Regions from separate parts of the Homo sapiens genome. Here region 1 is linked to region 2. Evidence: promoter capture Hi-C in human tissues and cell types (Jung and others, 2019). All regions are on one chromosome and are shown on one strand. Each heading gives the region's core, a stretch centred on a gene start or on the middle of the fragment in contact. The rest is flanking DNA. Distances are from core to core; before and after follow the strand shown. Region 1 overlaps UNC80 (unc-80 subunit of NALCN channel complex). Region 2 holds the start of CRYGB (crystallin gamma B).

What was found. The method cuts DNA at HindIII sites, captures the fragments that hold promoters and counts their contacts. A contact is called where the count stands out against the background at its distance.
Region 1: a contact is called between a fragment that was not itself captured here and the fragment with the promoter of CRYGB in region 2, in 1 of the 25 tissues and cell types used here (dorsolateral prefrontal cortex).

The regions. Positions count from the first base shown.
Region 1 is chr2:209,944,594-209,949,339 of GRCh38, reverse strand. It overlaps UNC80 (unc-80 subunit of NALCN channel complex), which reads right to left. Exons shown (of 65, transcript NM_001371986.1): 46 at 4,151-4,289; 47 at 3,397-3,493. Among named protein-coding and RNA genes, the nearest start is that of RPE, 56 kb to the left of the region's middle. The HindIII fragment of the contact is 5,215 bases long and covers 1-4,468 here.
Region 2 is chr2:208,143,063-208,147,529 of GRCh38, reverse strand. CRYGB (crystallin gamma B) reads left to right here and starts at 1,372. Exons shown (of 3, transcript NM_005210.4): 1 at 1,372-1,418; 2 at 1,514-1,756. The coding sequence starts at 1,410. The region is part of intron 2 of LOC100507443 (a long non-coding RNA gene); the gene reads right to left. RefSeq lists enhancers at 1,557-2,180, 3,788-4,467. The HindIII fragment of the contact is 6,166 bases long and covers 1-4,467 here.

The DNA.
Region 1 (4,746 bases), core at 612-3,111, 1.8 Mb before region 2:
CCAGTGGGTAGTTAATAAAGTAGTAGCTAAGCAAGACATCCTTTTTGTTTAAGCACTTGTAACTTTTTTAAGTATCCAGAATTGGTTTATCTTGAATGACATAGAGCTACCTAGAATATCTCTTCTACTCCTAACTTCCCTGTGATCCTAGCAATAAAATTCATTAGATAAGACCTTTTTAAAGAATAAAAATTACAGACATAGCTCTCATTAACATAGTTGTAAAAATGCTAAAATAATTGCAAACCAAATCTAGCAATACTGAAAAATGATAATTATACAACCCAGTTACAGTTTATTTTTAAGGAGACAGGAAAGTTTTAATTTTGAAAATAAATCAGTGTAACCTATCACACTTAGAAAATAAAGAATAAAAATCATATAATCATCTCTATAAATAGAGAGGAACATTTGGTAATATTCATTATCCATCAATAAGAAAACTCAAACTAAACTAAGAATAGAAGGCAGACTCCTTAATAATTAATTTCTTAATGAGTAATAAAATTACTTCCTTAATCTTTACAGGTATATTACAACAAAATCCTTTAGCAAATACTATTCTTAGTGATGAAATATTGGAAATCCCCTCCATACCCCGGGATCAGAAATGAAACAAAGATCCCACCATCATCACCATCATCACTTCTATTCCATTTTGTATTAAGGTTCTAGCCAGTGCATTAAGGACAGAGAAAGGAATAATGTGTACAAGAATTTGAAAGGATAAAATACAACTCTCATGATTTGCAGATGACATAATTAATTAAATAGAAAACACTAAGAAATCACACATATAAAATAAAAAATACTGATAACTTCATTTAAAAATGGGCAGAAGACTTCAGTAGGCACTTTGCAAAAGGAGATGTCCAAATTTTGATAAACATTTATCTGAAAAGCTTCCAAACCTTTTAATTTGAAAGAGGAAAATGGAAATTAAAATGATAATGGATGTCACTACAACCCAACAAAATAGCTAAAATAAAAAGACCGAAGATAACAAGTGTTGATGAGGCCATAGGGTACTAGAACATTTACATACTGTTGGTGGGAATGAAAATTGAAACCACCTTGGAAAACTTTTTGGTAGTATCTACTAAAGCAAGAAATACTCATAGTCCATGACTTAGCCCAGCAGTTCCATCCATAGAAATGCATAAATATTTGTGTACAAAGACATATACAAAAACATTCATTGCAGCTTTATTTATAATACCTTCAAACTAGATACAACACAAATGCCTGATAACAAGAGAAGAAATAAATAAATTGTAACATAGTCATACAATTATTATGACTATTATAAGTGAATGAAAAAGAATCAACTACTGTTACACACATTTATATGAATGAATCTCATGAAATAATACTGAATGACAGAAGTCAGACATTAAAAAGTAGCTACTATACTATTTCAGTTAAACAGATTTCAGAAATAGGCAAAACTGATTTATCATATTAGAAATCAGGATAGTAGTGCCTCTATCTGATTTTTCAATCTGAGTGGTAGTTATGTAGATGTGATAACATTATGAACATTCATGGAACTGTAAAATTATGATTTTTTTAGTGTTTTATGTGAATGTTACACTTAAATAAAATACTTTTAAAAAAAATTAAGTACAACAGAGACTTGCTGTTACAAATGTTGAAGTCCTATAGGTATGTTACTTATTCCCATGAGAGATATCCCAGGGAACCACTACTTAAGAAACCCTGACCTTACTGAGACATCAAGATGTCATCTGGTTTAAACTGACAGAATGGAAAATTAGGAGGATTAAAAAAAATTCTAATTTAACTTAACAATATTAGACTTTGGCTTTTAACTCACAATGACAAGGGAATTTGATTGTGAACTCTAACACCTTTTGATTTCAATGTGTTTGAATTTTGACTTGAAAGAGAATTTTATGACTCAATGGAAATTTGGTAAAATTTGAAATGGGAGAACTTTTTAGTCAAACTTAGGTGTTCTCTATGTTGCAGGAATATTGGAGAATCTGTATGCATTTTATTATTGCAGTGTCTCAATTGCAGAATATCTGACATATCTGGTTAACAACGTAGCTGAACACACTTGGAATGGCAAATAGAGTAGAGAGAAGATGTTTACAATCACGTATAGAATGGATTTGGAGTTAACTTAATGCAGGATTTGATCCATTCTGGAACTTTTTGTAGATCAGTGGTATTATAGGAACAGCAAGAAAATGGGAGTAGGAAATCCCCTCCATACCCTGAGATCAGAAATGAGACCATCCTGCAGCTTTGTTCTCCTGAAGGCCACAGCCACATCCGTGCCTGACCACAGGCATACTGTTTTTCTCCCCATTGCTCCAGAAGACAAAAATTCGAGAATATTGGGGAAAACACTTCTTACTCATTCCTCATGTGTCCCTCCAGTAAAAAGAGTTCAATTAATATAAATCCCGCTCCTCCTGGCCCTTATTCATTCTCTTATGGGAGAGAGAAACAGGCTTAAGGTGCAGGGCAAATATATAAAGATATATTGGGCATAATCAGCTTGGCTCCTTCCTTCTTCCTGGAAGAGCTTGTCAACAGAGTACAACTTTTAATAGATCAGATTTAAATCTCAGACCAGAGCCAACATCTTTGAATTGGGATGACTCATTCTTCATGTGAGTCTTTGAATTCTCTGTACTTGGCAAAATGAAGGCAAGATTGATATTCTTGCCCTTTGTGTTACAGAAATTCTTATTGCCCCTTGAAAGGAGTTTTCTTAAATAAATATCTGTTATGAAATTTTGTTTGCTACTAATTCACATTACTTGTGAGGAAAAATATTTTCTAACAAGACTAAATACCTTAGCATCTGCACAAAATTCAAATTAAGGGATTTCAAATGAATGAAGATTTACTATTGTTTTCCAGAACCTATGCTATGTTTCCTAAACTTTGTTTCTTCTTTCCTTTTCTTTTTTCTTTCTTTCTTTTTTTTTTTTTCTGACAAAGTCTTACTCTGTTGCCTAGGCCAGAGTGCAATGGGACAATCACAGCTCACTGCAGCCTTGACCGCCTGGGATTAAGCAATCCTCCTGCCTCAAGCCTCCCAAAAAGTTGGGACTACAGGTGTGCAACACCACACCTGGCTAATTTTTAATTTTTTAAAATTTTTGTAGAGACAGGGTCTCACTATGTTGCCCAGGTTGGTCTCAAACTCCTGGGCTAAAGGAATCCTCTTGCCTCAGCCTTCCAAAGTGCTGGGATTATAGGTGTGAGCCACCACACCTGGCCTAAATTTAGTTTCTAAAAGCTTACTTGTCAGAATGTTAGTCTGATATTAATCAGCATAACCTTTGTATTCATTCAATTTTATTTTCTCTGCCATATTTACTTATCACAAGGCACAGAATAAAGGGCTGCAGATACCTTCTGAATGATTCGGGAGCATACGCCACCACAGTGACACAGAGCTTAATGGCTTCACTGATAGAAAATGTCAGATCTTCGTTTCCATAGCAGAAATCTGAAGGAACAAAAAGTAAAGGCAAACTATCAGAGTGGATTTTGCAGGAGATAAAGAAGCACCTATTACTCCTAATGTTATCATTCCAGTATATACTGTAGCCTTTTCTTGTTAAATTTTATTCCTACGCTGTGAAAACTATTAATTTCTTCATCTCAAGGGAACGAAATTCTGTTTTCTAGTTTTGAACAATCAGATGTAAAATAAAAATACTTTTCTGGAGTGTTTAAAAAAATCTCAGATAATAGAAGACACTGAAGGGCATTTAAATTGCCTAAGGTTGAGGCTTTACCCTGGAGTTATCTCTAGTTCTACACATTCCATGATAATAAAAGACCATTTTGGAGAGTTATTCACTTAGAATTACCCAAGATAACCCAACTTTCTGAAAACTGCAGTGCTACAGCAGTGGTCTACTGAGCATCATTTTAATATAGTTTTCATGGCAGAGAATTCCTTACTCTTTAGGATTCATAAGAAATTTAAGAAAAAAAATGTACTCATTCAATTTCTACTACTGTTCCATTTATTTTTGCTACTTTGATTTAGTTATATATACACACACATATAAATATACGTGTATGTGTGTATAATACATATATTTATATTTAACAACTGCAGTGAGAAAAAGAATGTCAAAGCAAGTTTTGCTTTTACCTAATGACTTGAGAGGCTTCTCAGCTTTGACCAGCTCTAAGATGTCTAATATGTCGGTGGTCTCTCCCTCTAGGGACTGCAGCAAGTCAAACAGGCACTGAGCTGACACACCTTTGCTGGGCCCATTATTGGCAGCATCCTGATAAAGAAAAACAATTTTTGTTTATTGACTCCCACCACAGTAAAACTATAACTTGACAGGAATTCAAATTTTATAAATGCTATTACCAGTAACAAGTACAACATCTACCTGGAATTCAGCTTACATAATTCTGGATCCCGCAATGCTGTGGTATGATTTTGGAGTGGTACACCTGACTTTTAAGGGATCTATTAAATTCTAATATAGAACAAAAGAGATATTTGTAAAAGCTCACAAAAATACAGCGATATATGAACTTCCAAAAAGTTCATATCAATGGTTCCTTTAATTGAAGATGGCAGAACTAAGAAAATTTCTATAATTGATTGGTTGAATACTACAAATATGTTTGCGGAATGTATGCTTATTTTAACTAACAACGCTGGGAATTTCACAGGTCTTCTTTGATAATGTATCTCCACATGGAGATACTTACAATTTTAAATCTATTTAA
Region 2 (4,467 bases), core at 123-2,622:
CACCATTGAAGAGGCACTAAACAACCAAGTAGAAAAAATGATTTGGTCATTTGATTCCAGTCAGCGTCTGCCATCAGCCACCCTACTGCTGGCAGTGAGCTCACTAAGAGAGCGTTCATAGTGGTATGGATGAAGGCTATGCATTAACTTCTACTTATTAAGGCTAATCCAGCTATTTCCACTGTAGAATGTCCAATCTGCCAGCAATAGGGACCAACTCTGAGCCCTTTTGGTCCCATGCCTTGAGAAGACCAATCAGCCACTTAGTGGTAACATTTGAGGCAGAGCAGGAACACCAAACAGCAGGCAGGACTCTGGACAGCCACCAGCAGAAGGAGGGATTTAGGCCCTTAGGAAGATCTGAAAGGGGGAAGAAAGCCACAACTATCTGTTTTTGCTCAGGTCAGAGCCAATTATTGAGGACCTGCAATGTGCCAACCCTCTGCTCTAGGGCTCAGGGATAGACATGAACAAGAAATAATACCCAGCCCCCAGAAGCCTACAAAATTCCAGGCAAGTATCAGTTTTATTCAAGACAAGCCCCCAAACACCAACAATGATGATCACAGAATTTTTTTTTTTTTTTTTTTGCGACAGGGTCTTGCTCTGTTGCCCAGGCTGGAGTGCAGTGGTGCAATCATGGCTCACTGCAACCTCGACCTCCTGAGCTTAAGCAATCCTCTCACCTCAGCCTCCCAAATAGCTGGGACTACAGGTATGCGCCACCATGCAGGGCTAATTTTTGTATTTGTTGTAGAGATGGGGTCTCACCATGTTACCTAGGCTGGTCTCTAACTCCTGAGCTCAAGCAATCCACCTGCCTCAGCCTCCCAAAGTCCTGGGATTATAGGTGTGCACCACCTCGCCTGGCTGATCACAGAATTTTGAATTTGAACTAAGCTTTATGGGTTTTAACACACTTTCACAGATTACTTCACTTGATTCCCTCTTCTTTAAGATTCCTTACTATTTAAATTCTGGCTTTTAGAACTAAAACACACACACACACACACACAAAAACACCACCAGTCCCTGAGCAGAATTCATTACTTAGTTTAATGACTTTTGAGAAGTCAATTAAGCAGAGTAAACTATAAAATAAAAGCACAGAGACAGAATTTCGCCCATCCTTTTGCTCAACTAAAAGTGTACTCTATTCATTTTGATGGCAACAACAGCTTTAGTGAATTAGAACAACCCGAACCTACCAGAAAGAATGAGAGTAAACCATTCAGCCAACCCCAGTGACCTGGGCACGGAGAGCAGCGAGCTTGCAAATCCCCTTACTCACCAAAATGGGCCCTTTTGTGTGATTTCCTGTGGAGGCAGCAGTCAGGGCTGCTATACATACAGTGACGTTCCCGCAGTCCCACACAGCAACCAGAAAACATCTGCTCACTTCCTTCAAAATGGGAAAGGTAAGTCCTGGGTACCGGATGCTCAGCCTTGGCCCTAATGCAGTGGCCTCAGTGGGGGCCAATCACTCCATGCTCCCACATCTTCCATTTTTCAGATCACCTTCTACGAGGACAGGGCCTTCCAGGGCCGCAGCTACGAATGCACCACTGACTGCCCCAACCTACAACCCTATTTCAGCCGCTGCAACTCCATCAGGGTGGAGAGCGGCTGCTGGATGATCTATGAGCGCCCCAACTACCAGGGCCACCAGTACTTCCTGCGGCGTGGGGAGTACCCTGACTACCAGCAATGGATGGGCCTCAGCGACTCCATCCGCTCCTGCTGCCTCATCCCCCCGGTGAGTGTGGCTCTGTCTTTGCCTTCCATCTTTTTGGAAATAAAAGCTATTTCATGATATTCTTTTTTTTTTTTTTTTTTTTTTTGAGGCGGAGTCTCGCTCTGTCCCCCAGGGTGGAGTGCAGTGGCATGATCTCGGCTCACTGCAACTTCCGCCTCCCGGGTTCAAGCAATTCCCCTGCCTCAGCCTCCTGAGTAGTTGGGATTACAGGCATGCACCACCATGCCCAGCCAATTTTTGTATTCATAGTAGAGACGAGGTTGCACCATGTTGCCCAGGCTGATCTCGAACTCCTGGCCTCAAGTGATCCGCCCGCCTCGGCCTCCCAAAGTGCTGGGATTACAGGTGTGAACCACGGCATCCGGCCTATTTAATCACATTATTCTTAAATCCCAGCTACTCGGGCGGCTGGGGCAGGAGAATTGCTTGCTTGAAGCCGGGAGATGGAGGTTGCAGTGAGCCGAGATCGTGCCACTGCACTCCAGCCTGGTGACAGAGTGAGACTCCATCTCAAAACGACAATAACAACAACAACAACAACAACAACAAACTTTTGCTTGCTTTGTCTTACTTTTCTATTTGATTATTCCTCCTGAGAAGATAGGATCCTGTCTTCTGATTTCTATTCTAATTTAATGGTCAGTACCTATTAGCTCACTTAGAGGTATAAATTAGAGAAAAGGCCAAATCTGAAACTAAAGTTTGAGATTCCATATTTTCTGGGCAGTGACTGCAGAATTCTTAGAATTGTGGTGTGTGGGAGGCATGGGATACAGTGTCATAAAAACAGAAGTTAATGAAGGTGATACTTGCTGCTGAGGGAAATAAATAAGTTGAGAGCAGGAGGCTAGAAAGGAAGCTTAAAAGTCAGATAGGTTGAAATTTGAACTGAAGGCTGGGTGCGGTGGCTCACGCCTGTAATCCCAGCACTTTGGGAGGCCGAGGTCAGGAGGTCAGGAGTTCAAGACCACCCTGGCCAATATGGTGAAACCCCCTCTCTACTAAAAATACAAAAATTAGCTGGGCTTGGTGGCACGCGCCTGTAGTCTCAGCTACTTGGGAGGCTGAGGCAGGAGAATCGCTTGAACCCGGGAAGGGTAGGTTGCAATGAGCTGAGATCATGCCACTGCACTCCAGTCTGGGTGACAGAGCAAGATTCCGTCTCAAAAAAAAAAAAAAAAGAAAAGAAATTTGAACTGAAAATTAGCCAGATGTGGTGGTGCATGCCTGTAGTTCCAGCTACTCAGGAGGCTGAGGTGGGAGGGTCACTTGAGCCCAGAAGGTTGAGGGGGCTGTGACCCATGATCATGCCATTGCACTCCAGCCTAGGTGACAGAGGGAGACCCTGTCTCAAGAAACAAATACATATATGTGTGTGTGTGTGTGCGTGCGCATATAATAGTGAACCCCAAATATCTGAGACAGGTCTCAGTCAATTTAGAAAGTTTATTTTGCCAAGGCTGGGCACAGTGGCTCATGCCTGTAATCCCAGCACTTTTGGGAGGCCAAAGCAGGCAGATCACCTGAGGTCCGGAGTTTGAGACCAGCCTGACCAACATGGAGAAACCTCTACTAAAAATACAAAATTAGCTGGGCGTGGTGGCGCGTGCCTGTAATCCCAGCTACTTGGGAGGCTGAGGCAGGAGAATTGCTTGAACTTGGGTGGCAGAGGTTGTGGTGAGCCGAGATCACGCCATTGCACTCCAGCCTGGGCAACAAGAGTGAAACTCCATCTCAAAAAAAAAAAAAAACCCAGAAAGAAGGTTTATTTTGCCAAGGTTGAGGATGCACCCATGACACAGCCTCAGAAAGTCCTGAGACATGTGCCCAAAGTGGTCAGGGGTACAGTTTGCTTTTATACATTTTAGGGAGACATGAGACATCAATCAATATGTATAAGTTGTAAATTGGTTCAGTCTGGTAAGACAGGAAGTAGGGGCTTCCTGGTTAGACATGGATAAGAAACAGAGCTGGGCGCGTGGCTCACCCCTGTGATCCCAGCACTTTGGGAGGCTGAGGTGGGTGGATCGCCTGAACTCCTGACGGAGTTTAAGACCAGCCTGGCCAACATAGTCAAAGCCCGTCTCTACTAAAAATACAAAATATTAGCTAATCGTGGTGGTGGGCGCCTGTAATCCCGCTACCCGGGAGGCTCAGGCAGGAGAATCACTTGAACCCAGAAGGTGGAGGTTGCAGTGAGCTGAGATTGCGCCATTGTACTACAGCCTGGACAACAACAGCGAAACTCTGTCTCAAAAAAAAAAACAGTAGATAAGAGACAAAAGGTTCTTTGAGCCCTTGATCAGCTTTCCACTGAATACACAATTTAGTCTGGCTCGATGACTCTGCATCTTTACATAAACAATAGGGGAGAGGAAGCAATCAGAGATGCATTTGTCTCAGGTGAGCCTCAGAGGGATGACTTTGAATAGAATGGGAGACAGGTTTGCCCTAAGCAGTTCCTGGCTTGACTTTTCCCTTTAGCTTAGTGATTTTGAGGTCCCAAGATTTATTTTCCTTTCACTGTATATACATAATATGACATTTAACTTTCCAATGACTCTCAGTTTTCTCCTTTGAGAAAGGCTTTCTCAAATAACAGGCACTAAAGTGATGTGATATTTTATTGTAAGCAAATCTTAATTCCCAAAGCCCTAGCTCTGCCCATGAATCATTAGACTCAGCGGTGGGTGACTGGGGAGTGTGACAGC